Linked DNA regions of Homo sapiens: regions 2, 3 and 4 are each linked to region 1. Evidence: promoter capture Hi-C in human tissues and cell types (Jung and others, 2019). All regions are on one chromosome and are shown on one strand. Each heading gives the region's core, a stretch centred on a gene start or on the middle of the fragment in contact. The rest is flanking DNA. Distances are from core to core; before and after follow the strand shown.

The links. The method cuts DNA at HindIII sites, captures the fragments that hold promoters and counts their contacts. A contact is called where the count stands out against the background at its distance.
Region 2: a contact is called between a fragment that was not itself captured here and the fragment with the promoter of ERBB4 in region 1, in 1 of the 25 tissues and cell types used here (lymphoblastoid cells).
Region 3: a contact is called between a fragment that was not itself captured here and the fragment with the promoter of ERBB4 in region 1, in 2 of the 25 tissues and cell types used here (dorsolateral prefrontal cortex and lymphoblastoid cells).
Region 4: a fragment that was not itself captured here is called in contact with the fragment with the promoter of ERBB4 in region 1 in 1 of the 25 tissues and cell types used here (H1 embryonic stem cells).

The regions. Positions count from the first base shown.
Region 1 is chr2:212,535,611-212,541,749 of GRCh38, reverse strand. It overlaps ERBB4 (erb-b2 receptor tyrosine kinase 4), which reads left to right and starts at 2,948. Exons shown (of 28, transcript NM_005235.3): 1 at 2,948-3,301. The coding sequence starts at 3,220. RefSeq lists an enhancer at 3,917-4,417. The HindIII fragment of the contact is 8,258 bases long and covers 642-6,139 here.
Region 2 is chr2:211,715,107-211,721,245 of GRCh38, reverse strand. The region is part of intron 7 of ERBB4 (erb-b2 receptor tyrosine kinase 4); the gene reads left to right. Among named protein-coding and RNA genes, the nearest start is that of MIR548F2, 710 kb to the left of the region's middle. The HindIII fragment of the contact is 3,105 bases long and covers 1,391-4,495 here.
Region 3 is chr2:211,858,988-211,865,126 of GRCh38, reverse strand. The region is part of intron 3 of ERBB4 (erb-b2 receptor tyrosine kinase 4); the gene reads left to right. Among named protein-coding and RNA genes, the nearest start is that of MIR548F2, 560 kb to the left of the region's middle. The HindIII fragment of the contact is 6,124 bases long and covers 59-6,139 here.
Region 4 is chr2:211,898,591-211,904,729 of GRCh38, reverse strand. The region is part of intron 3 of ERBB4 (erb-b2 receptor tyrosine kinase 4); the gene reads left to right. Among named protein-coding and RNA genes, the nearest start is that of MIR548F2, 520 kb to the left of the region's middle. The HindIII fragment of the contact is 7,476 bases long and covers 134-6,139 here.

The sequences.
Region 1 (6,139 bases), core at 1,699-4,198:
TATCATGCTTTTTTTGGCAAAAGCTTTGATGTCAAATCATTTTATAGGCTGCTGTTCAGATACCCATCTGTGGCCACATATCTAAAATTGTTGTTTCAATGTTAGAATGAGTAAAATGGGGATCAAGGCAGAACAAACAGAATTAGAGGGAAACTGTGGGTATGTTGGGTAATGTAATAGGTGAATCCTTGTATGGGCTGTTTAATATCCACAAAAATATATACTAAGTGTTTTTTTAAACCAATGAATATTAATGGAAAATCCTCCTTTGTCAAGAATTATTCTAGAAGATATGGGTGAGAGCAGGGCATATAGAAGATATTCTGTTATAGAAAAGCTATAAAATTGACAGGGGAACAAAAACTAACATAATTGGCACAACTATAAAAAAATCCAAAATATTCAGGCCATGAAGTTTTTGCCCTACAATTTAAGCGAAAATATGCAACTCATTTATTCACTTTGTCTTTTTTTTCTTTTTCTTTTTCTCTCTTTTTTTTTTTCAGAGATAGGGTCTTGCTCTATCTCCCAGGTTGGAGTGCAGTGGCATGATCATAGCTCACTGTAACTATTAACTCCTGGGCTCAAGCAATTCTATCCCATCTCAGCCTCCCAATAGCTAAGACTACAGGTGTGCACCACCATACCCAGCTCATTAAAAAAAAAAAAAAAAAAAGGTAGAGTTGAGGTCTCACTATGTTGCCCAGGTTGGTCTGGAACTTCTGGCCTCAAGGGATCCTCCCACTTCAGCCTCCCAAAATGCTAGAATTACAAGCATGAGCCACCACACCTGGCCCATTCCTTCACTTCGTGCAACATAATTGCCATCAGAAACCAGACTTTTTTTTTTTTTTTACTACAGAGACTTAAACTTTTACAAAAGGAAGATGTTTTTCTCATTTAAATTGTCATTCTAGGGACAGAAAGTAAGTTTTGAAAAGAAGTAGCTTTTATGGAAGAGAGGTGCCTGAGAATTTCAAAAGGATTTAAGACAAGGGGAATGAGAAGAGATTGAATGAAAGAAGAGAAAACAGAGAGAAAGAGTAATTAAAAAAAAGAAAAGAAAAGAAAACAAAGATAATCCCAAAGAGCAGTGTGCACAGTTTTGCTGCAATCAGTACCATTCTGGTCAAGTCTCCGTCATCTGCTCTAGGCTTAGTTCCTCTCTGCCCTAGGCTGCTTCTGGTAAAACCGCACGCTCAGCTTGTTGGGCGTCTTCATGGAGCCTGTTATTTGCTGTGGGTCTAAGAAAGGGAAAGCTTCAGGCTTCAGGCATCTGTACCTCCTATCTGTTCTCAGCTCCATGGAAATTCTTAAGGGATGGGGCTATAGATAAGAGAGTGGGAAATGGAGATCAAGGTCTCAAATGAAAGGCAGGGTGGTTTGATTTTTAAGCTCCCCTGATACTTTTTATTTATATATTTGCTGCTTCTAGAAAAACCAAAAAAGGAAAGTGATTCATACATAGAATGCCTGTACAAATAGCAAACCAATAACTACCCCCAGCAGATTCTGGCCCTTGCCAGGGTGCGGTTTCAGAGCTGTAAAAGGCAAGGGATATGTACATTGAAATGACCCAGTCCCAGAATATTTTAGATTCAGAAAAGGTCAGAGACTTTCGTAACTAGCAATGACCTCCAGATTAGGGACCATGAATGTGCAGAGTGAGGACAAGGAAGGGGCCTAAAGCTGGGTCTACTGTAGAATAAACAGAATCATTTAAGGTTAATTATGTTCTGATGTGGCCTCCTTAAATTCTTTCAGGCTGGGGACAATTTCTAGCCCTTTAAGATCAAATCAGTGGCTTTGGACTAGAATCTGCTTAATAAGAATGAACTCCAAAGGTGAAAAAAAAACATAAAATCTAAAAATCAAAGGATATGCCTTTATAAATGTGAAAGTTTAGTTTGGCTCAATGTTGGTCAGTTTAGAAATGTGGGAGTAATCGGAGAGATGGCATAACTGGGGGCGGGAGGCGGGGCGGTGATTATACCCCTACCACTACCTAATCCTCAGGGGCTACCAGTTACTTGCTGTACACACTTTTAAAGTACTTTCTAATTGTGGACCATGAGTGGCAGAGTACTGCGGGCGGAGGCTTTTTGCTGAAAGCAACATTGACTTTTATTTCTAGGGAAAGTCTTGTCTGTAGATGAGCACCGTGGGGCAACGGAGAAAATGCTGACTTTCTTGTTTAAAAAAAAAAAAAATTTCCGTAAGCGGCCCTCCAATGGTCCGTCCACTCAGCAGGCCAGCTGTCCCAGGCCTCTGCCAGGGAGGGAAGACGAGTGCTTCAGTGCATGGCTTCGGTGAGCCCTTTAAATCCAGCTTCCCCTGCCCCCACCAAGAGGCTCCCTTTCCCTGACAGGTGTTTTCCCAACTCCGGAGGCCCAGGATTTTGGGGAGTGGCTGAGCCAATAAGATTTCCCTTTGGAAGGGGGGGGGAAGGGCGTGGCTAGTTGGGTCAGAGCATGGGCGGGGTTTGCGCGGCTGAGCAGAGCCGGCCTGGTTGCGTGGAGGGTTGTTTTATTCCCACCGCCCCCCGCACCTTTTTTTTTTTTTTTTCTGGAGTCTTATTAATTTCTCTGTGGGCTGCAGCTGGAGACCGCGGAGCGCTGGAAATGACGCTCGGAGCTTTAATTACCGCAGCCGCCGGACAAGTGTGAGGAAAGCTGAGAGGAAAAAGAAGGACGGGATCCGGGGAGAAGCGAGAAGCTCCCCCCGCCCCGCTCCCCTCCCGATTTGGACTGGAGGTGCAAGGAAACTGAAGAAGGAGCAGAACATAGCCCGGCTGCGGGGAGAGGCCGGAAACCTACCGCCTCTTTGCAATCAACTTTTTTTGGAAACCTTTCGCCCCCCTTCCTTTTTTATTGTTGACCAACCAGTGAGAGAGAGAGAAAGTGAGGAGGGAGCGAGCAAGCGAAGGCTCACGCGGGGAAATAGCTGCACAGTCCGGCCCAGAGCGCCAAGCGCACACACCGAGCACACTCCCACACGCGCACACACGCGCTCACACTCGCCCCCTCCTCGGGCCCCGGCCCTGGACCCGCGGGCGCGGACTCGGTCGCCCGCCCTGGGAGTCGCCACACCGCGCGCGCCGCGCCCGCCCCCCTCGCACCCCCACGCGCGCCCGGCTGGGGGATCTCCTCCGCGTGCCCGAAAGGGGGATATGCCATTTGGACATGTAATTGTCAGCACGGGATCTGAGACTTCCAAAAAATGAAGCCGGCGACAGGACTTTGGGTCTGGGTGAGCCTTCTCGTGGCGGCGGGGACCGTCCAGCCCAGCGATTCTCAGTCAGGTGGGTTCCTTCTGGCACTCCGGTCGCCGAACCTGCAGCCGCCGGCGGGGCTGCCTCGAGTGGCTCCCCTGCCCTCTTCACCCATCCCGGGAGGCGTGGAGGGACCGCTTGACCGGGGCCTCTTCCCTGGGCTTTCGGTCACCCCTCTTTCCATTTGAAACTTACCCTGTATGTGTGCGTTTGCTTTATTTATCGTGAAAAATCACTCTGAGTCCCTCTTTTCTCTCCTTAACCCCCTGCTTTTCTTTCCCGAGCGTTTTGTTTGGGAGCCTAAGCGGGATCCCTTCTGGTGGCGCCTGTTGTTCGGGACATGGGAGACCCAAATCCCCAGTCAGAGGAGACTCTTCTGTCCCTGTCGGGTCCCCGAGGGCAGAACCCGCACCGCCGGGGCCGCGGTCCTGGGGCGGTGCTGGCTGGGCCTCTCCCGAGCCGAGCCCGAAGGGCGGTGGAGAGCGGCGCTCAGAAAATCGGGCTTTGCACCTGTGTGTGCTGCTGGCGACCGCTGCGCCCCCAGTCGCCCGAGCCTTGTGGCGTCAGACGCAACTCGCGCCCAGCCCGGGCAGCCGGAGTGCAGCAGGCGGGCGCGCCTCGGTCCGGGGCCCGGAGTTCTGGGCCTCTTCCGCCGGCTTCCCGGAGCCCTCTCCCCATTGACTTGAGGGGCGCTTACTCGCCTGCCTGACCTCTTAAAAAAAAAAAAAAAGGCTTGGCACACTTGAGCCAGAAGCCCGGCCTTCCCGTCGGTTGCCGTGTTTGGCTCCGGGAAGAGTTCTTCCTGTAGTTCAACTTGCTATTGGCCGGAGTCCTTCAAACTTGTCTGTTTACTGCCCGGCCAGGCTGCCGAGCCTGCGGGTCACTGGATCCACCCGAGGCGAAAGCGGCAGCGGCGATGGGTGCGCGGCCACTGCTTGCTGGAGAGCTCGAGCCCCAGGTACCTGGGCAGGCAAAGGGCTAATTGACCCCGAGAGGCAGCGCGGCGGGGCTGGCCCGCCACGGCTTGCAGGACTAATGACAGCACCTGCAGTGCAATGGAGCTCAAAGTTTCTGACACTAGAGTTTCCTGGGGATGAAAGTGGGACGGGAGAGGTCTGAGGAGGACCGGTGTCTTGACGTGGCCAAGGGGTGCCTTTTGGAGAGCCAGAGAGATTTCCGAAACCATCCAGGGATGGTGACTGGAGCGTGGGAAGTAGCTTGAGGTGATAAAGCCCCCGGGAGTGGCGATAGGGAGCGCTTTAGGCCCCCGGAGGGTGTCCTTCTGACCTCACCAAGAAAACGGCTAGCTGTAGTTTTCCCGCTCCGCCGCCGCCGCCGCCGCCGCCTCCTTTGCCTAGTAAATAACAAGTTACAATTATCGAGTCTTTCAAAATGACCTTCGAATGGCACATGTGAGGCGTTTGTGCTGGCCGTTTGCACCCTCCCAATTACTCCGAAATTCTTCACGCATACCAGGTCCCGCGCTCCAGCCACCTCCGGAATCACACCAACACGGACTTGACATTCCAAGCGGCCTCTTAGATACATCTCTTTTTATCTCCCTCCCCACTTCGAGTCCCTTCATATTTTCCCTCAATGGGTTGATTATGCACATTGACCCATTCAAAGGCATTGGCGACCGACATGCAGGCTTAGCCGAGAGGAATTTCTACGAGGCGACCTACTGGGGGCTGTCTGGTTCAGCCTCTGCCACTGGGGGACCCCGCTCCGAGTCCGCAGCAATTTGGTATTAACTGTGCGGCTCCGAGTTGAGCTATGCCGAAAAGCCCTTTTCAGAATTTCTGCAAGGAATGTAATCCAAATTAGTTCTGCAGCTGTCCTCTTCCTCGTCTCAGGCGACACTAGCTCGCGCCCTCGCTTCGTCTCTTCTCGTTTCCCTGGGCGAATTGTCAGACCCACAAGTGAGCCCATTTAGAGCGCGAGGATTAGCGTGCCATTGTTGTTCCGTGTGTGACTCTGTACTTGAAATTCTGGGGGCACAAAGGCGAGCCTCACTTGTTCAAAACACAAAGTGATCCAGATGAAAGGGCCGCACAAAGAAAAGCTCTCGGGTGCATCCCTGGTATAATTGCAACACGCATACTAAGGTGATCCATTGGAAACTGTAAATGCCCCGGGGGACTTCGTTTTTCATCCTCCCCCACCCCCACCCTGCCGCACCTGGCAGGGAAAGTTCAGCTGGTTTTAATGCAGTGCTATTATAAAAACAAGTTACTGTCTGGGGTATGAGTGAGGCTGTGTGTGTTTGTGCCTATGTATGTGTGTGGCTGTGTGTTCCCAACTAAATACATATTGCGCGTCTCCCCTCTCGCGGTTAGCAGTCAGTAGCAGTTTGGAGGAGTTTGTTTTGGTCCAAATGAGAAATTAAGTGCGGATAAGTAAACTAAGCTGCCAGAGGGCGACAAGATGTTGAGTGAATTGCTTTTAGATGAAACAAATTAAGGAAACGAGGGAAGACAATCTGCTTCTCGCATTATTAGACACGCTTGGAGTTCAGGGGAAAGTGGCATATTTTTGAAATGCTAATTTCTTAAGCAGAAGGAATGCACCTTATTTACTGCTCTATGTGAACAGAATAAAAATATAGGGCGGGGGATGCTGTTGTATAGATCTTTAAGATATTTCTTAATTGTAACAGAAGAGAACCTCTTTTTTCTTTTGCTTGGAAAAAAATTCAGCATTAGAGAGGATGTTTTTTAGAAATTCTAAAGGACTTTGTCTCATTTTCAATTATGCATTTTATTTAGATATATCTAGATATAGCCAAAGTCCCTTTATATGGCAATTATAAAGCCTTTGCTAACCAAAGGAATGGTTCTAAAATTCGTCTTCCTTGTATAATGGAAA
Region 2 (6,139 bases), core at 1,694-4,193, 820 kb after region 1:
AATATTTGAAACTTTTAGAGTGCTGACATGTTGTCACAAATGAAAAATTTCACACCTGACTTCGTGTGATAGGTCACAGTCAAAATGCACACAACACAGTTTGTTTAGTGTTCCCAAGAGGGAAAGAAACCACACACATACACACACTCTCAGCCCCTTTCGACTGTGGTACATCTTTTCCTTGCATACCCAGATTTCCAAAGGGAAGCACACCCACAGGTAATAAAATGGCACGTGTGCAGGCCAGACACACCAATGGCAGGTTTTCCAAAGTGCCATTTTGTGGTGTTGAGATATTGTTGAAAATGTCAAAAAGGCCTGCAGCTATCCCTCCAGGTAAGGGTGGTAAAAATAAGAGGAAACATTTATGTTTATGTGTAGCTTAGAAAGTCAAGCTTTTGGAGAAATGGGAGAACGGTGTAAGTATGCAACATCATAGAGAAGAGAAGAGTACAGTGTTGGTATGAACACTTTGTGTGACCTGAAGAAACAGAAGGATAAACTGTTCTATGCTGAAAATGAATAACAGAAGTTAATGAAAAATAGAACAGCACTGAATAAAGCTAATGATAAAGATCTTGCTTGTGTACCGAAAGAGTGGATTTTTCAGCATGTAGATGAACATAAGCCACATAATGGTATGCTGATCATCAAACAGGCAAAGATCCAGCACGGTGAACTGAAAGTTGAAGAGAACTGTAAATATTCAACAGGCTGGACACAAAAATTTAAGAAAAGACATGGCGTTAAATCTTTAGAGATTCCCGGTGACAAAATATCTGCTGATCACAAAGCAGTGGAGAAATTCATCATTGAGTTTGCCAAGGTCATCACTGATAAAAATCTGACACCAGGACATTTCTGTGATGCTGATGAAACATCACTGTTTTAACATTGCTCCTCCACAAAGGCATTGACCACAGTTCATTAGACAGCCCCTGCAGGAATGAAGGATACCAAAGACAGAATGACTGGGCTGGAATGTGCTAATACAGCAGGCACACATAAATGTAAACTTGCTGTGATAGGCAAAAGCTTGCATCCTCAGTTTCCAAGGAGTGAATTTCTTACCAATTATTATGCTACTAAAAATGCATCGGTTACCGGGAACAACTTTTCTTATTGGCTTCACCCAAACATTTTATACTAGCACCTCCTGCTCATCGCTGGGAAGCTGGACTGGATGTTGAATGCAAGATTTTGTTTTTCCTTGACAACCGTTCTACTCATCCTGCAGCTGAAATTCTCATCAAAAACAATGTTTATGCCGTGTACTTTCCCTTAAATGTGACTTCATTAATTCAGCCATGTAAACAGACTATCCTTAGAGCAATGAAAAGTAAATACAAAAACACTTTCCTTTTTTTTTTTTTTTTTCTTTTCTTTGTTTTGAGACAGAATCTCGCTCTGTCACCCAGGCTGGAATGCAGTAGTATGATCTCGGCTCACTGCAACCTCTGCATCCCGGGTTCAAGCGATTCTCCTGCCTTAGCCTCCCGAGTAGCTGGGACTACAGGCACGTGCCACCATGCTTGGCTAATTTTTTGGATTTTTAGTAGAGACGGGGTTTCACTGTGTTAGCCAGGATGGTCTCGATCTCCTGACCTTGTGATTAGCCCGCCTCGGCCTCCCAAAGTGCTGGGATTACAGACGTGACCCACCGCACCTGGCCAAAAACACTTTCTTGAACAGCATGCTAGCAGCAGTGAACAAAGACCTGGGTGTGGGAAGGTTTTCAAAAGAAGCTTAGCATGAAGGATGCTGTATATGCTGTTGTCAATGCTTGGAACACAGTACTAAAGACACAGTTTTGCATGCCAGGTACAACCTCTGACCTATGACTGTGTTCGGGAAAAAGGTGGTTACTTGGAAAGATTCCCTATGTCAGGTGAGAAAAAAATAATCCTTCAGAGTCCATCAGTAAACTGGAAGAAATGGATATCACAGAAGTTTTTAACATTGATAACGAGTTGTTCCTTCATTGACTGATGGTGAAATTGCAGAAGTCGCTCTGAATCAAAGCAATCGTGGTAATAGTGACAATGAAAATGTTTTTAACATTGCACAAAAAGTTATCTACAGAAGACATGATGAAAATGTGTTATGGGCTCACTGAAGGACTAGAGCATGGTGCATTCATAACAGAACAAGAAGTCATGGGAGTTTATAAAATCAAAAAGAGACTTCTAAGACAAAATTCACTGTTAATGGGCAAATGACCCTGGAGGAAACATTTTAAAAAGCCATCCAGCAGAAAGCCCCCTTATCCCTGTAGGACCTATTCCCTGGTTTCTCAGCTGTTTCTGATGTTTCTTTTTACCTAAGAAAATAAAACAGTGTATCGTAACCTTTTAATCAAAACACAGCATCATAGATGGACACTAAAAGCCTGCATTATTTGTTGTTGTTGTTGTTTCACAGCTGATGGAGGTATTCTGGTCATTCTACTCTGATACCTAGTTATTCCAAACACATTATCTTTTCACTGTGTTAGTGGTATACCATGTTTTTTTTTTTTAGTTTTATATATTTATGTGTGAATAAGTGTAAGAATATGATTGCTCATCAGTAGTATATAAATTTAGTGTTATGAATGATGGTGATGCCAAACAACCACAGATTGTCTATGTTGATGGCTGAGATAGTGATGCCTTTGTTTCTGATGGTTCAGTGTACACAAACTGTGTTTCACACCAAACATTACTTAAAATATTATATAAAATTACCTCAGGTCATGTGTATAAGATATATGGAATCATAAAAACTGAATATTGTTTTTAGACTAGGGTTTCATCCCCAAGGTATTTCATTATGTTTATGCAAATATTACAAAATCCAAAAAATTCTGAAATCTGAAACACATCTGGTCCCAAGCATTTTGGATAAGGGATACTCAATGTGTGTAAGGGACATGGGATTAGAGTGGCTATGGATCGTGGCTTCGTTCCCTTATTAGTCATGTGATTTTTAAATAACACCTTTTGTTCTCTATTTTTTCTTCTTTAAGATGTGGGTTATAAAAATTATATCTTCTGGCCAGGCACGGTGGCTCGTGCCTGTAATCCCAACACTTTGGAAGGCTGAGGTGGACAGATCACGTGAGGTCAGGAGTTTGAGACCAGCCTGGCCAACATAGTGAAACCCCATCTGTACTAAAAATACAAAAATTATCCGGTCGTGGTGGCACACACCTGTAATCCCAGCTATTTGGGAAGCTGAGATAGATAGGAGAATGCTTATACCCAGGAGGCAGAGGTTGCAGTGAGTCGGGATCATGCAATTGCACTCCAGCCTGGGCAAAAAGAGCAAAACTCTGTCTCAAAAAATATATATATCTTCCCTCCTTTCTTTCCAGAGCCATTATAACAATCGAAGAGATAGGATATAAGGATGAGGGGGGTAGATTTTTTATTTTTTTGGAGACAGAGTCTGGTTCTGTCACCCAGGCTGGAGAGCAATGGCGCAATCTTGGCTCACTGCAACCTCCGCCTCCCGGGTTCAAGCGATTCCCCTGCCTCAGCTCCTGAGTCGCTGGGATTACAGGCACATCCACCACGCCCAGCTAATTTTTGTATTTTTAGTGGAGCCTGGGTTTCACCATGTTGGCCAGGCTGTCTTGAACTCCTGACCTCAGTTAATCCACCTCCCTCGGCCTCCCAAAGTGCTGGGATTACAGGCGTGAGCCACCGCACCAGGCCGAGAGGGGTAGATTATTTAAAAAGGCTTTGAAAACACAATTCTAGTCATTGTTATGAAACACGTTCATATCCATTAAAGTAAAAATTGTACTTTGACTTCTTTATGTATATATATGTGTGTTTAATATGTCTCTTAATTAGCATTTTAAAGTCACAGACACACTAACTCCAAGACAGCAAAGATTTTGCATCTTAAATATTTCAATATTCACACCAGTCCTTTTCATCTAATAACCTCTTATCTAAAGTCACCCTATATGTCACCATGTACCATCCTTACAAAACTGAGGGCTTGGCAGTATTGCAGGATGGGGCTAAATGATATTTTCCCTTTTCTTAGAAGCGCATTATACTACTACCTAATCTACTACCTTCAAATTAGGATGCCTTTCCCAAAGACAGTCAAAACTATGCTTTCTTGGAGTTTTTTTGGTGCTTTCCCTTTTATTCAAGTCCTTAGGTTGAAGCCCGAGGGTTGGGTGAGAGCAGAAGTACCAGGAAAATTTGAATTAGAGAATTCCCCTTTTCTTTACTATAGCCCTTATAGTGATTCACCTGAAAGCTGTCAACTCCAAACTGTAGTAAGTGGCTAAACATGAAGACCTATTGTGTGAAATTACCTGACTTGTTTACTTTAAATGTGGTAACTTACAGTCTTCCTTTCTTAGATTAGTTTGTGTATCTCAAACTACAGGCTAATTTAAAGCACTTCAGTATTTGTCTATGAAAAAATTTAAATCTCTGATGGGCCTGGCTTACATGGCTTGGTTTGCCAAATTGAAGCTTTCTTGGGAAAACAAGGACATTAAGCTTCTTCTTTTTTTTTTGTTTTTTTTTGTTTTGTTTTGTTGTTGTTGTTGTTGTTGTTTTTTGAGACGGAGTCTCGCTCTGTCGCCCAGGCCGGAATGCAGTGGCGCAATCTCGGCTCACTGCAAGCTCCGCCTCCCGGGTTCACGCCATTCTCCTGCCTCAGCCTCCCGAGTAGCTGGGACTACAGGCGCCCGCCACCAGGCCCGGCTAATTTTTTGTATTTTTAGTAGAGACGGGGTTTCACCGTGTTAGCCGGGATGGTCTCGATCTCCTGACCTCGTGATCCGCCCACCTTGGCCTCCCAAAGTGCTGGGATTACAGGCGTGAGCCACTGCGCCCGGCCTTTTTTTTTTTTTTTTTTTTTTTTTTTTTTTTGAGACAGAGTTTCACTGTTGTTGCCCAGGCTGGAGTGCAATGGCACAATCTCGGCTCACTACAACCTCCACCTCCCGGGTTCAAGCAATTCTCCTGCCTCAGTCTCCCTAGTAGCTGGGATTACAGGCATGCGCCACCATGCCTGGCTAATTTTGTATTTTTAGTAGAGACAGGGTTTCTCCATGTTGGTCAGGCTGGTCTTGAACTCCCTACCTCAGGTGATCCACCCGCCTCGGCCTCCCAAAGTGCTGGGATTACAGGCGTGAGCCACTGTGCCCGGTCGGACATTCAGCTTCTAAATGCAGGTCTACAGTTCCTAATCCAGAATTCTGAAATTTAAAAACTCCAAACATGCATTTTCTGAAACTCGTTTGGGTGCAAAACTTGAATCTAACTGATATAAGACTAATTATAATATTTGTTTATTCCATTCGGCAGAAATGTGAAAGGGTTTCATTGTAACGCATTTCCCAAGATGTATTAGTTGGTTCTTACACTGCTATAAAGAAATACCTGAGACTGGGTAATTGATAAACAAAAGAGGTACAGTTGGCTCATGGTTCTGTAGGCTGTACAGGAAGCATGAGGGGTTCTGGAGAGGGCTCAGGAAACTTTCAATCACAGTGAAGGTGAAGAGAAGCAATTATGTCTTCCATGGCCAGAGCAGGAGGAAGAGAGAGGCAGGAGGTGTGACACACTTGTAAACAACCAGATCTCATGCTAACTCACTCTTGCAACGACAACACCAAGAGGGATGGTGTTAAACCATGAGAAGCCACCCCCATGATTCATTCACCTCCCTCCAGGTCACACCCCCAATACTGAGGATTATAATTCGACATGAGATTTGGGTGGGGACACAGATCCAAACCATATCACAAGACCTTGAAGAAAGAATGGCTACTTAATATCATGTATGCACCTGTTGCAGGTTGGGTTCCCCTGAGATAGAGATTAGGTTATTAAGGAGTAGTCTCAAAATCAGCACTTTTTGGGGAAGGGAAGAAAGCAAGATTGGACTTTGATATCATCTCAACAAAGTGACTCTTTGTTGTGGTGGATGCTTTCATGTGGATATTGACTTGGAATGCAAATTTTTCCATACTTTGTACCCACTCCCATGGATTCTTTGCACCAGATTCCCTTTCTTCTCAAATTTTCCAGTATTTCTTCTCTCAGGACAAGCTCATTACTTCATATATATTCTAAGGTCAAGCAACTTCTCTTTTCATACAAAATGAGTAATCAATTTCGCT
Region 3 (6,139 bases), core at 1,871-4,370, 680 kb after region 1:
ACTTTTTAGTAGATGTCTGCAAGGAAGCACCCAAAAAAGGAATTTTAAGCCCCTTTTATGAAGGACCACTTCTAGGAAATTATAGTCAATCTTTTATTTATTTATTTTTTATTTTTTAGACAGAGTTTCACTCTCCAGGACAGGCAGGAGTACAGTGACTCAATCTTGGCTCAATGCAACCTCTGCTTCCAAGATTCAAGTGATTCTCCTGCCTCACCCTCCCAAGTAGATGGGATTACAGGCACCCACCACCACGCTCAGCTAATTTTTGTATTTTTAGTAGAGACAGGGTGCCACCACACTCAGCTAATTTTTGTATTTTTAGTAGCGACGGGGTTTTACCATGTTGCCCAGGCTGGTCTTGAACTCCTGACCTCAAGTGATCTGCCCGCCTGGAACTCCCAAAGTGCTGGTATTACAAGCGTGAGCCACCACACCTGGCCAGTTCTAATCAATCTTTATCACTTTACATAATGGCAGAGATTCAAAAGGATTCACTGTATGTATGATTATTTCTAAGTCTCTTGGTACGTAAATATCAAGCATTTAGGATTGCTATTTTATGTTCGAAATAATAATATCCCAATTTTCTGCCAAGGTCAGCATCTTGAGCTTTTCAGACCCTGGTATCATTTTGCTGGGGCAGTTTACAGACTTTCTTGACCTGAACCACCAGCTTTTGTGCAAGCATGCAGCCTGAAGCAGCCTGGAGTTACTGCTCCAGGTGGAGGAGTTCCTGGGAAGTGCCAAAGAGATCCCCAGAAGCAGGAAAGCAGTCACTTTCATGTGGGTTCAGGGTAGGAGTTTGCAAATCCCAAAAGACAAGGGATGGGCTCCCACCCAGTCTGAGGATTAAGGGCCAGATGCCAAGGATGGAAGGATAGAGGAGATAGCAACAGCAGCAGCATCCCAGAAAAGAAGGAGAGGTGGGAAAAAGGGCCAGTGCCAGAACACCCACAGAGGAAAGGAATCAAGAAATGGCAAAGCTACTGAAGGGGCAGGCACAGATTTTTCAAGACTGGGTGATGAGAAAATCTAGAGATGGTAGTGGGGCTTGTGAGAACACAGGCAGGCCTAGTGGTCTTGGCCCCTTGCTACTGCCAGCAGGACTGGACCTTCTGGCTTCTCTCTCAATGCTTCTAACAGAGGCTCACTCTGGATCCTACCTCCAAGCCCTCTCTATGAAGCAGAGGGTCAAGAAAAAGGAGGAAAGAAAAGATAATTGAATGATGAATCCTCTCAATTTTTCCACTGAATACACAGAAACCTATGAATGTTAGACCCCTATAGGTTCATATATTGAGTTAGGATGTCATATCCCACTGTGTCTGGAATTTTTTCCTTCCGGTGGGTTCTTGGTCTTGCTGACTTCAAGAATGAAGCCACGGACCTTCACAGTGAGCGTTACAGCTCTTAAAGATGGTGTGTCTGGAGTTTGTTACTTCAGATGTTCAGATGTGTCTGGAGTTTCTTCCTTCTGGTGGGTTCCTGGTCTCACTGACTTCAGGAGTGAAGCTGCAGATCCTCACAGTGAGTGTTACAGCTCTTAAAGGTGGCACGTCTGGAGTAGTTTGTTCCTCCCAGTGGGTTCTTAGTTTCGCTGACTTCAGGAATGAAGCCGCAGACCCCTGTGGTAAGTGTTACAGCTCATAAAGGTAGTGCGGACACAAAAAGTGAGCAATAGCAAGATTTATTGTGAAGAGCAGAAGAACAAAGCTTCCACAGCATGGAAGGGGACCTGAGTGGGTTGCTGCTTCTGGCTGGGGTGGCCAGCTTTTATTCCCTTATTTGTCCCTGCTCATGTCCTGCTGATTGGTCCATTTTACAGAGTGCTGATTGGTCCATTTTACAGAGAGCTGATTGGTTCGTTTTACAGATTGCTGATTGGTGCATTTACAAACCTTTAGCTAGACACAGAGCACTGATTGGTGCGTTTTTGCAGAGTGCTGATTGGTGTGTTTACAATCCTTTAGCTAGACACAGAGTGCTGATTGGGGTGTTTTTACAGAGTGCTGATTTGTGCATTTACAATCCTTTAGCTAGACACAGAGTGCTGATTGGTGCGTTTTTACAGAGTGATGATTGGTGCATTTACAATCCTTTAGCTAGACAGAGTGCTGAATGGTGCATTTACAATCCTTTAGCTAGACGCAGAGTGCTGATTGGTGCATTTTTAAAGAGTGCTGATTGGTGCATTTACAATCCTTTAGTTAGACACAGAGCGCTGATTGGTGCATTTACGATCCTATAGCTAGACAGAAAAGTTCTCGAAGTCCCCACTCGACCCAGGAAGTCCAACTGGCTTCACCTCTCACTATTTTTCTTCAGCACAATTCCTTTTATGGTATTATCTTACTCACACTTTATTTTTAGATAGAACCATATTAAATTCCCTTTTTTCTAAGTAAAATAATGATCTGATATATCAGTTTTATGCAGTTCATTCCATTTTAAATTCTTTGAGCAAAGTATCTTTACTATATATTTAGAAGTCTTCTTCACCTATTCTAAAAGTTCCTTTTTTATTTCACAAAAATATAGCCAAGAAAATAGTTTTAATCAGTGATTGCAATGACAAGAGTTTCAATTATGCAGTGTTGTCTCCATGAATTAATCTAGTGAGTTTTGACTTATGAACATATTCTGTAGAAGTTATGTTTGAACAGGAATCTCTGGAAAATTGCCTTTTCTCATCTAAGACAATGCTTGAAAAAAATTGAGAACAAAGCATATATTCTCTACTGAATTAAAAATATAGTGTAAAAACTCTTATTTTCTGCTGATAAGAAACAGATGTTATAGCATTAATTTGGCTTTAACAAACTATTAGCTGTGATTTTATCATCATACAATTATTGTAAACTTGTTATTGTTTTTATCCCTTTAGCCGATAAATATGTTAAAAATTAAAATGGAAAATTTGAGTTCTAGCTTGAAAATAAACACTTGCTAGATCTAATGATTATTCTACATGTCATGCAATCAGAATCTTGAATGAGATTTTTAAGAGAGATATGGCACTACCTTTTATCTGTGTCTTTAAATATTTTAGTAACAGCAAGGTTAAATAAAATTTTTGAATAAATATGTTTTATATTAACTTGGATACAACTTTAAAGAATTTAAAATGCTGAATATAGAAAAAGAAAAGAAATTGTCCTTTATTTCACATGACTTTACCCATTTATGCTTTAAAATTTTTTAAAAGATCATTTGCTGGCTTTAATAGTAGTGAAAAAATTAGCATTTCATTTTATAACCCCATTGGTCAGCATTCCAAATCCTCTGTTTTAGTTTTTTCATTTCCTTGCTGTTTGCTGATCACACACATTCATTTCATCCACTGAGTTGTTTGTTTAGTTGTAGCTTCCTTGTTGTTCCAAGCCTCAAATCCCACCCATTCTAGAGTAATACATTTTCTGTAATTTTTTAATGAGTATTTTTATTCTTAAAGATAACCCAAGACTTCGTGTGTGAACATATTGTGCATGTATCACCTGTGAGAGATGAAGAAAATTATAAAAACAATTCATTGTTAGTCTTTAGCCAATATTTATAGGTTTTTCTTTATATTGTTAATGGCAATATTCAAATTGTGTTTGGGTTCCATCAATATTGTTTTTGGGCTGGGTGTAGTGACTCGTGTCTGTAATCCTAGCACTTCGAGAGGCTGAAGTGGGAGGATGACGGATGACTTGAGCTCAGGAGTTTGAGACTAGCCTAGGCAACACAGCCAAACCTCTTCTCTGCTAAAAGTAAAAAAAAAAAAAAAAAAACAAAAAAAAAACAAAAAAAAAAACACGCCTGGACTGATGGCATGAATTTGTGGTCCCAGCAACTCATCAGGCTGAGGTAGAGTGCTTGAGCCCAGAAGGTGGAGGCTGCAGTGAGCCATAATCACACCACTGCACTCCAGCCTGGGTGACAGAGTGAGACTCTGTCTCAAAAAAAAAAAAAACTACTTTTTTTTAATATATATATATATATATATATATATATATAAAATATATATATAAATATATATAATGTATTTATATATTTTATAATATATAAATATATTATATTTATATATATATAAATATATAAATATATTATATTTATATATATATAAATATATAAATATATAATATATTATATTATATAATATATTTAAATATATTTATATATTTATATATATATAAAATATATATAATGTAATATATTGTCTTTGTTTTTTCCTAATTCTTTTTGAGTTGTATTTTTTATTTCAGAGAAATAAAATTAATGATTTATTTTCATGCCAAATTATTCTCTAATGGTTATTATAGAGCCTAACACCATGGTAGTATTATAACATGCTAGTGTTAATGTAGGAGTGAATATTCCTATTTTTAATATTTAAATAAAACATTGCATAAGTATTTCCTAAGGTTTGGGAAATCATCTTTCTGTCAGTAACATAGCACTAAGTATTTATATGGCAAAAATTAAAATTTACTATATTTACTGTCAATAAACTTTAATTGTACTAGCAAGAGAGCAGAAATGCAGAACATTACAGACTTATAATGTGTGAATCACTTGCAAGCTAAGAGGCCTAGGTAATTATTTGTCTTAAATGAGTAGTGTACAATAAAACCCAGGGACAATGATAATTGAGGTGACTTCATCCTGCTTCAACTCTGTTATCACATAAAAGGAGCAATCTGTTTTTAATCTAAAATTTGACATGAGTAAACTTGTTTTATTAGTTCCTTGGTGCTTGCTAAAACAAAGAAAGCAGCAATTTAAGAGTTAGGCTTATAAAAGTCTTTTGAAGACTCTGTAGCTAGGACTTAATCAGAATAATGTTGAAAGTTAGAAAATAATTGGAGTAACTTAAAAGCACAAACAAGTCAAATTACAAAGAGTGAAAGGCAAATCTTGTTTCTCTATGTCCAGTATCATACAATCATGGTATACTTTACTTAGTAATGAAAGAGCTCTTCTAAGAAGTTTGCGACTTACAATAGCAGTTGGCTTGTGACTTTTCTCACATAGACTTCCAGAATTAAATTGATTTTGACAAATATTTAAAATGAATGACAAGAGATGTTTTGGCGTATAATAACCACCATTTATGTTTTTAAACAATTACAGAAACTTGTAAGATAAATTTAATGATTGCATTAACAATTTTTCTTTGTTTTACCATTGCCAATACGTTTGTAATGAATCACTTATTTGTGGTTTTTCTACCAGAAATAGGAAAAGAAGTTAATGGAAAACATTTACATTTCTTTTTCATTGCTGCTAATCATTTCTGCTTATTGGACATTGAAGAAGTGTGTCTTACAGAACTGATTACTTCTGGGTATATAACCTACTAATTATATGTGTGCTTTGCATTATTCTTGCCTTCAGCTTTCATATCCAATATGAGATAATGAGCAGATTGCTTTAATTCCAAAGCAATCACAGAGTCACCACCCCCAAAATATTTCTACAATAAAACGAGGGAATTGTTTCACTACAAAGTCAGGATTCATTTTGTATTATTTCTTACAGAGGAAGACATAGCTCCATAACTCTGGAGTGAACTTAAAATTAACTTTTAGGAATTTTAATATTAAACTTTATTAAACATAACACATCTTTTAAAGAATAGTCATTTACCTGAATGATTTTACTATCTAAGCTTATAAAATACAAAATAGGTATATTACAGTATTCATGAAATTCAGCCTAAAAAATGTGAATCCAAATATTTTTCTAATTTGACAAAGGTTAGATAATTTATGTGAACCAGATAGGGATGTGATAACATGATAATCAAGTTATAAGTTAGGGTTGCCATATATTTGTGAACTGCCTTTATCTAAAGACTTTTTCTAGAGAAAGAGATTTTAAGGGAATGCATGAGGAATTGGATAACAGTGACTCTTCATTTAGATTTCATTGATTGCTGAATAACTAAGTTCATTTACAGTTTTGATTGCTAAAATTGAATTAATTTTAGTAATATGTCTGGGAAGGCTGCAGAGGCAGAGGACAATATTATCAAGTTACATTAAAAGATACATTGCCGGCCAAGCACAGTGGCTCATGCCTGTAATCCCAGCACTTTGTGAGGCTGAGGCAGGTGAATCACCTGAGGTCAGGAGTTCAAGACCAGTCTGGC
Region 4 (6,139 bases), core at 2,622-5,121, 640 kb after region 1:
AGTAGACAAGTATGCTTTTATGAATTCAAGTAAGATTTCTGATAAAATAAATTATAATTTTGCTTTTTATTTCTTCACTGAAACTATTAATCAACTGTGGGATAGTAATAATGTAATAATTAATATTTATTTAGCACTAAGTGTGAGCTAAGTGTTTTATATACATATATTATGTTTAAATGTCATCCTAGTAATATGGCTTTGAGATAAGTTCTACTGTATGGTATTTTATAAAATGAGAAAATGGAGATACAAAAATATTAAGGTAATTTGCTAAAGTTCCATTAGTAAGCATTTTGGAGAAAGAATTTTTCTCCTAGAGTTTCAGCCTGAATATGGGTCCATTTATGCTTTAAAATCTTGGATTGTTAGAAATTGAAAAATCTTCTGGAGATAGAGAGCTACTGTTCAAGAATGTACATGAGTTCATTAGTTTTTGAGGTTTTTGTTTGCAGTGTTCGGTTCTCTACATTTTAAGAGAGCTGGTTTATATTATGCTCTGTGTGCATGTTTATGTGTGAATGTGTGTGTTAGTGTGTTGCTTTCACAGCTGCTAAACATGCACCTGCATCAGACTGAATCCAGCTAAAACCCACTATTAGTGCATATTATCTTCAATACTTGGAACAGTATTTATTTGCCTTTGACATTAGCGGCTGACCCTGATGTTCCTTTATCTTTAAACAGCCAATCTTCTTTTCAGAATATTCTTCTTATAGCACTATATTTAGCTAATAATTTGATGTGTTGTAATTTTGTTCTTTCAGCTAGTTTTGAGTTCTAGCAATTTAAAATCTGTTTGATATAATGAAATAAGATATATAAGAATATGTCCCTAGGATATATCAGCAGTTGTGTTTCTTTTCTTTTCTTTTCTTGTTAATCTGGTATATTCTTGCAACCAAGAAGGTGAGCTTTAAGTAAAGGTGCTTTTTTTTTTCTTTTTTAATTGTGTAATCAATGCTACAGAGTGAAATCGGCATTTAATACAAACCTCTTTTTTTATCAGTATATTGTTTAGGCAACAAGTTAAATTCATGCCCACAAAGGGATTAAATATTGGCATTTCTTGTTGGGTTTCTCTTTTGAAAAACAGTCACTAACATATTTATTGATTACCCATTTCAATAGAAACCATGTGTGCAAAATTTAAATTGTTTACTCAAGTAGATGAAGGATATTTAGAAAACCAACCAAAATTTCATGAGAAATACATTGAATTTAAAATTTCATGTATATTACTCTCATGAATTGGTCTTTCTTTCAAAGTCAGATTTCTGTTGCAACTTGTTCATTTAGATTTTCATATTTTGCTTAGATGTTTCTTTTCCATGCCTGCCTTGCACCCAAAAATCATTTTCCAGGGATTAAGTCAAGCTGATCAAATTTAGTTAAACTGTAGGACATTAAAATATACTTCATTCAATATGATATTTAATTTAACATTATAAAATTAAGATGTAAATACAAAGTTTGTTTTCATGCTTCTCAATTCATCACATATTGGTTAATTACTGAGAGCCTATTCAAGCAGTACTTTTGGAACTGAGTAATAACATTTATTTGCCACTCAATCTGATGATTTGAAGAAAGAAACATTGTGGCAAATGTGGAGGGAAAGAGACTTATTTTAAGTTACTTAAATCAGCTGAAAGAGGGGAGAATAAAATGCAATAGAAGAGCTATATATGAGACATTGCAGAAGAAAGTTTGACATAATTAATTTGTGATATATTTCAGTGAAACAATGGCATATAGATTGAGATTACAGAGATAATTAGTTTTACTGAGTGAAGATTTTTAGTTTTCTAAAGAAAAGTAATTATATATTAAATAGTAAAATGGTACTTTCTGAGTTGTTTTTAAATATAGTTTTTGCTTTGTGTTGCTCTTAATTTCTAGCCATTTCATTACCAGTAATGCTGATTAAAATATCTGACTCTATAATCTATGATTTTTTATAGTTCAAAATAGTCTGATAAGTATATAGAAGGATATGAAAACAAAATTTTTAAGAAAAAAATATACATAGAAGGAAAATTACTCAATTTTGAGACTTTATTAACCAGTAAATTTGCTTCTCAATACTTTATTTGCCCAGATATTTAAAGAATTCAGAAGGAAAGAAGAAGGAAAAAATCAAAACTCATTCTAGAAAATTTATTTCTTTTCAATAGCTCTTTTTTCTCTTACATATACATAGAAAAGATGTTTAGTTTAAAATAATGTGTTTAAATTATTTTTTATCACTTCACTATAATTTAGTTCTTAGCTGCCAATAACTATTTTGTACAGTATTAGTTGGTGTGAAATAGGAACCAAATTTTTCCACTGTTATATATTACAGATGTTAATATCTATAATATATTAAAAATGCTTGCTTGTTGTTTTATTTCTGTGTTTACTGTTAGAAAAAACTCCCCTTAAAATACCGTTATACCGTTTCATTAGAAACATTTTCTATTTAGTTATAATTTAATAAAAATGTCATTGATTGGTGTTTTATTTGTTTTTTCGCAAAATAGTCTTTGTGGAGGCACAGAGAACAAGGGGTAATCCCTGCTCAAAGAAGCATGTATAGTACAATGAAGAGATCACATATTTAAACCAATCATACAAATGAGCAAAGCAACACTGGAGAGAAGTGAGGGAGTTGCCATGTATATGAATTAGGAAGGTTGGAAAGCTTTCTAACTAAAAAAAAAACTATTTTGTGAGTCTCAAAACATAAGAAAAATTATGACAAATAACAGAACATAAAAGTGGTACATAATTTATAACACAGCCACCCAAGAATCTATACCTACACACCATGTCTAAGGAGTTGCAATTTTTTAAAAACATTGTAAATTAAGTACATTAATGTTTATGTAAAAGCAAATTTTTTTTGACTCTACAAATAATGCTCATGGGTGCAGCATTCTTTATTCATCAAGTGCCATTTTTAACTGGAGTTTTAATATCAAGGATGATAAATATAGGAAAAAAGCTATTAGGCTGTCAATTTTCCTTGACAAGTCCTAACATGCCAGATGTATGCATAGTAATAAACACTCCCGTTATATGCGATGCCTTAATCTCTGAGATGATGATGTTGAAAAACACCACAGATAACATCTTGAGATGGGATAAACATGTGCAAGTGGTGAGGTGGCCACAGTGAAAAGCAGAGTTATGGCAGAGTTACCCTTCGGTAGTCATTGGATGAGAAATTTCCCCAGGTGGGTAATGCTTGCAGAAGGACATTTGGAGCGCTCCTTCAGGTTATCTCCGTGGGCTCTGACAGCAGGTCACTGACTATTCCTGCCAGGATCAGCGCCCACACACAGTGTAACACCATGCACCTGTCATGCTTCCAGAAGGAGCTGATGCATCTACTTACCAGACAGTTTTTTAAATCTATCACATTAAAATGCTCATTTATTGAATGTAATTTCTATTTAAAAAGAGAGCAAATGCCATTACAGGTGAAGAAAATGAATTTCAAAATAGCTAAGTGACTTATTCAAGGTTACAGGGCTCACAAAAACAGACCTAAGACATATCCTCTGGGTTTTTGGCATCAAGAACATGATCCTACCACTCTTTGAGAGAAGCCTATGCTCTCATTCACCATCATCATTTATTTACATGTCCAAATGAAAGAAAAATAACATACAAATTTCTTTCAAAATAGAAAACATTTTATAGTATATAATATTTGTAAAATCAAGCTGAGCTATTTAACTGATTTTTAATAAACATGTTTTGCCTCACTCCATTCATAGTGGAAGGGGTAAATATGATGGTCTTGAATCCTAATATATGATATTGAAATAGAGGAGATGATAGCCTGGGAAATATTGCTCAGGAAAATAGAAAATGCCACTCTATGTAGAATAATCCTTCTGATTAAAATTCAGTAATTGAGTGTTTACATTTCTGAAAGGAGGCATTGCCAGTATCTAGTAAATAAACTGGGTTACTTATAAACAGTGGACATGTGACAAGTCTTGGGGAGACATTTATTCTAAGTGCCTTGAGTCCATGTCCTGTATAGAGCCTTAGTAACTTGCTAAATATAACACTAGGATTTGAAAATAAAATTATCTCTCATAATGAATAATCAAAAAAGTCAGCAAACTCTTTACTAAAGCGTAATTACTTAAAATAGAGTTACTTTGAAGGACCCGCTTTTCAATAGAAAAATTGAGTTTGACTGGTTTGACATCATTCTTTCAAATTCCTGCAAACAGGAACCTTTTTTTTTCTAGGTTTGTACTTTTAAAGAGCAATGAGTTTGTTTTACTTTCATCTATGTTCTAGTCTATTATGAGGAAGGCAAAATGGTGTGTGTGTGTGTGTGTGTGTGTGTGTTTAAACATAAAATAGTAATTAGACTCTGACTGGGCAGCAGAAAGGTTAAATGTTCAATCTGTGCTATTTTAAGACATGGGAACAACTGCTTTCTCTGTGTTGATACGCTCAGAAGTCCCTGTTAGTATGAGGAGAATTTCTAATTGAGAATGCAAGAGCCGCTTAATGTTTTTGAAGTTCTTCGTAAATGAGCCTCGTATTTAGGAATCACTTTAAAGTTCAGGACACTCCTGGGTATTTATATTTGGCATACTGCCTGTGATGGAAAGTTGAGGCCTCGGGTTACTGTGTGCAGAGCAGCCCCTTCTGTGGGAATTGGCATAAGACACCTTGTCTACTGATGGAAGAGTGGCATTAAAACTGCACTCTAGTTTTAACAGGAGGGGTGCTCAAGAAACTTACTTAAAAGTACAATACTGAGTTTATAAGTTTGGTTAAGTTTGCCTTTCCGTTTATTCCAATTTTAGATATTAATTTTTCATCAATAATATAGCATTTTATTAGCTGCCAGTCAAGACAAATTAATATATTAAACTTAACAGTAACCACTTTCAACATATCAAATTACTATGCTTAGGGAAGTAGCAATCTATCATTAAGAAAAATAAGTGATGATTAGTGGCAAGCTCAGGTTACCAGAACCATTACTTTTTCTATTAAGGAATTATATGGGCAAACTAGAATGCTAGTCTTGGCCCCTCTTGAAAATTTATTCTATAACCTGTAAATCACAATAACATATCACTAGAGACATGAACAAACTTTTTATCAAATGTAAGTACTATAAAACAGTACTGTCTAATTTTACAGGTCTGCTTGACAAGAAAGTATTACTTTAAAAATTTAATAAATTACTTTGTGATTGGTTTCGTAATTTCTGTTTAGGGGTAACAGTCTGTTAACTTGCTCTTCAATTCAACTTTTATTAGAAAAAATATAATGTCATATAAAATGTTACTGGTAGATGAATTGCCCGAATTTAAAATATGATTTTAGAACTGAAATAAAATAAATGTGACTTTCATATGGCAGTTAGTTTACTAATGCCGTAGAGAAAATAGATAGAGGAAATGAAGATAGCTTCATTTTAAACCATGAATTCTATAGTCATTTCAACAAGTACATCAGATGAAATGTGAAGGAATTAATTCCTTGAGTGCTCATAAGTTTTCCTATAAATTAGATAAAACTTTGAGTTGTAATGGCTGATTATTATAACTTCCAAGAATCCCACGGTTGTTGAATGAAAGTCTTGAACATCTGAGTTTTTGTCTTGCTTCTCTTCTTTTCAAATGCCCAAATTGACTCATGTGTTAATTTAGAAAATATTTATTGTTATAATAGGTAAGGTACTGGGCAAAACATTATTGAAGTCTATAAAAAGAAAACCAGTAAGTGCAACATAGGAGAAGGAAATTTGAGAATGGTAGTTTGGACGATTGAGTGTGAAGATTCCATGCCACTTGTTTTAATACTGGTCTATAAATACAGCTGTGAACTTTTGTAACTTAAGGTCTGTAGGTCCCATACTTTGAATGATAGGCATGCTACTGGGACACAAGTGACTGACTACAGGAGGTTTCAACAGCAAAAGTAATTACTAATTCTATTCCCATTAGAAGAGAAATATAAATTAGTTAATGATTTTCCTTCCTTATCATTTTTTAATTTAATGATCCTGAAAATGTCAGATAGCTGTTTGCTCTTAGAATTACAAAAGAGTCAAGCAGTGCATTTTTTAAAAACATTTAATGGATTTTTAAGTCACTGTGTCATGAAAGGT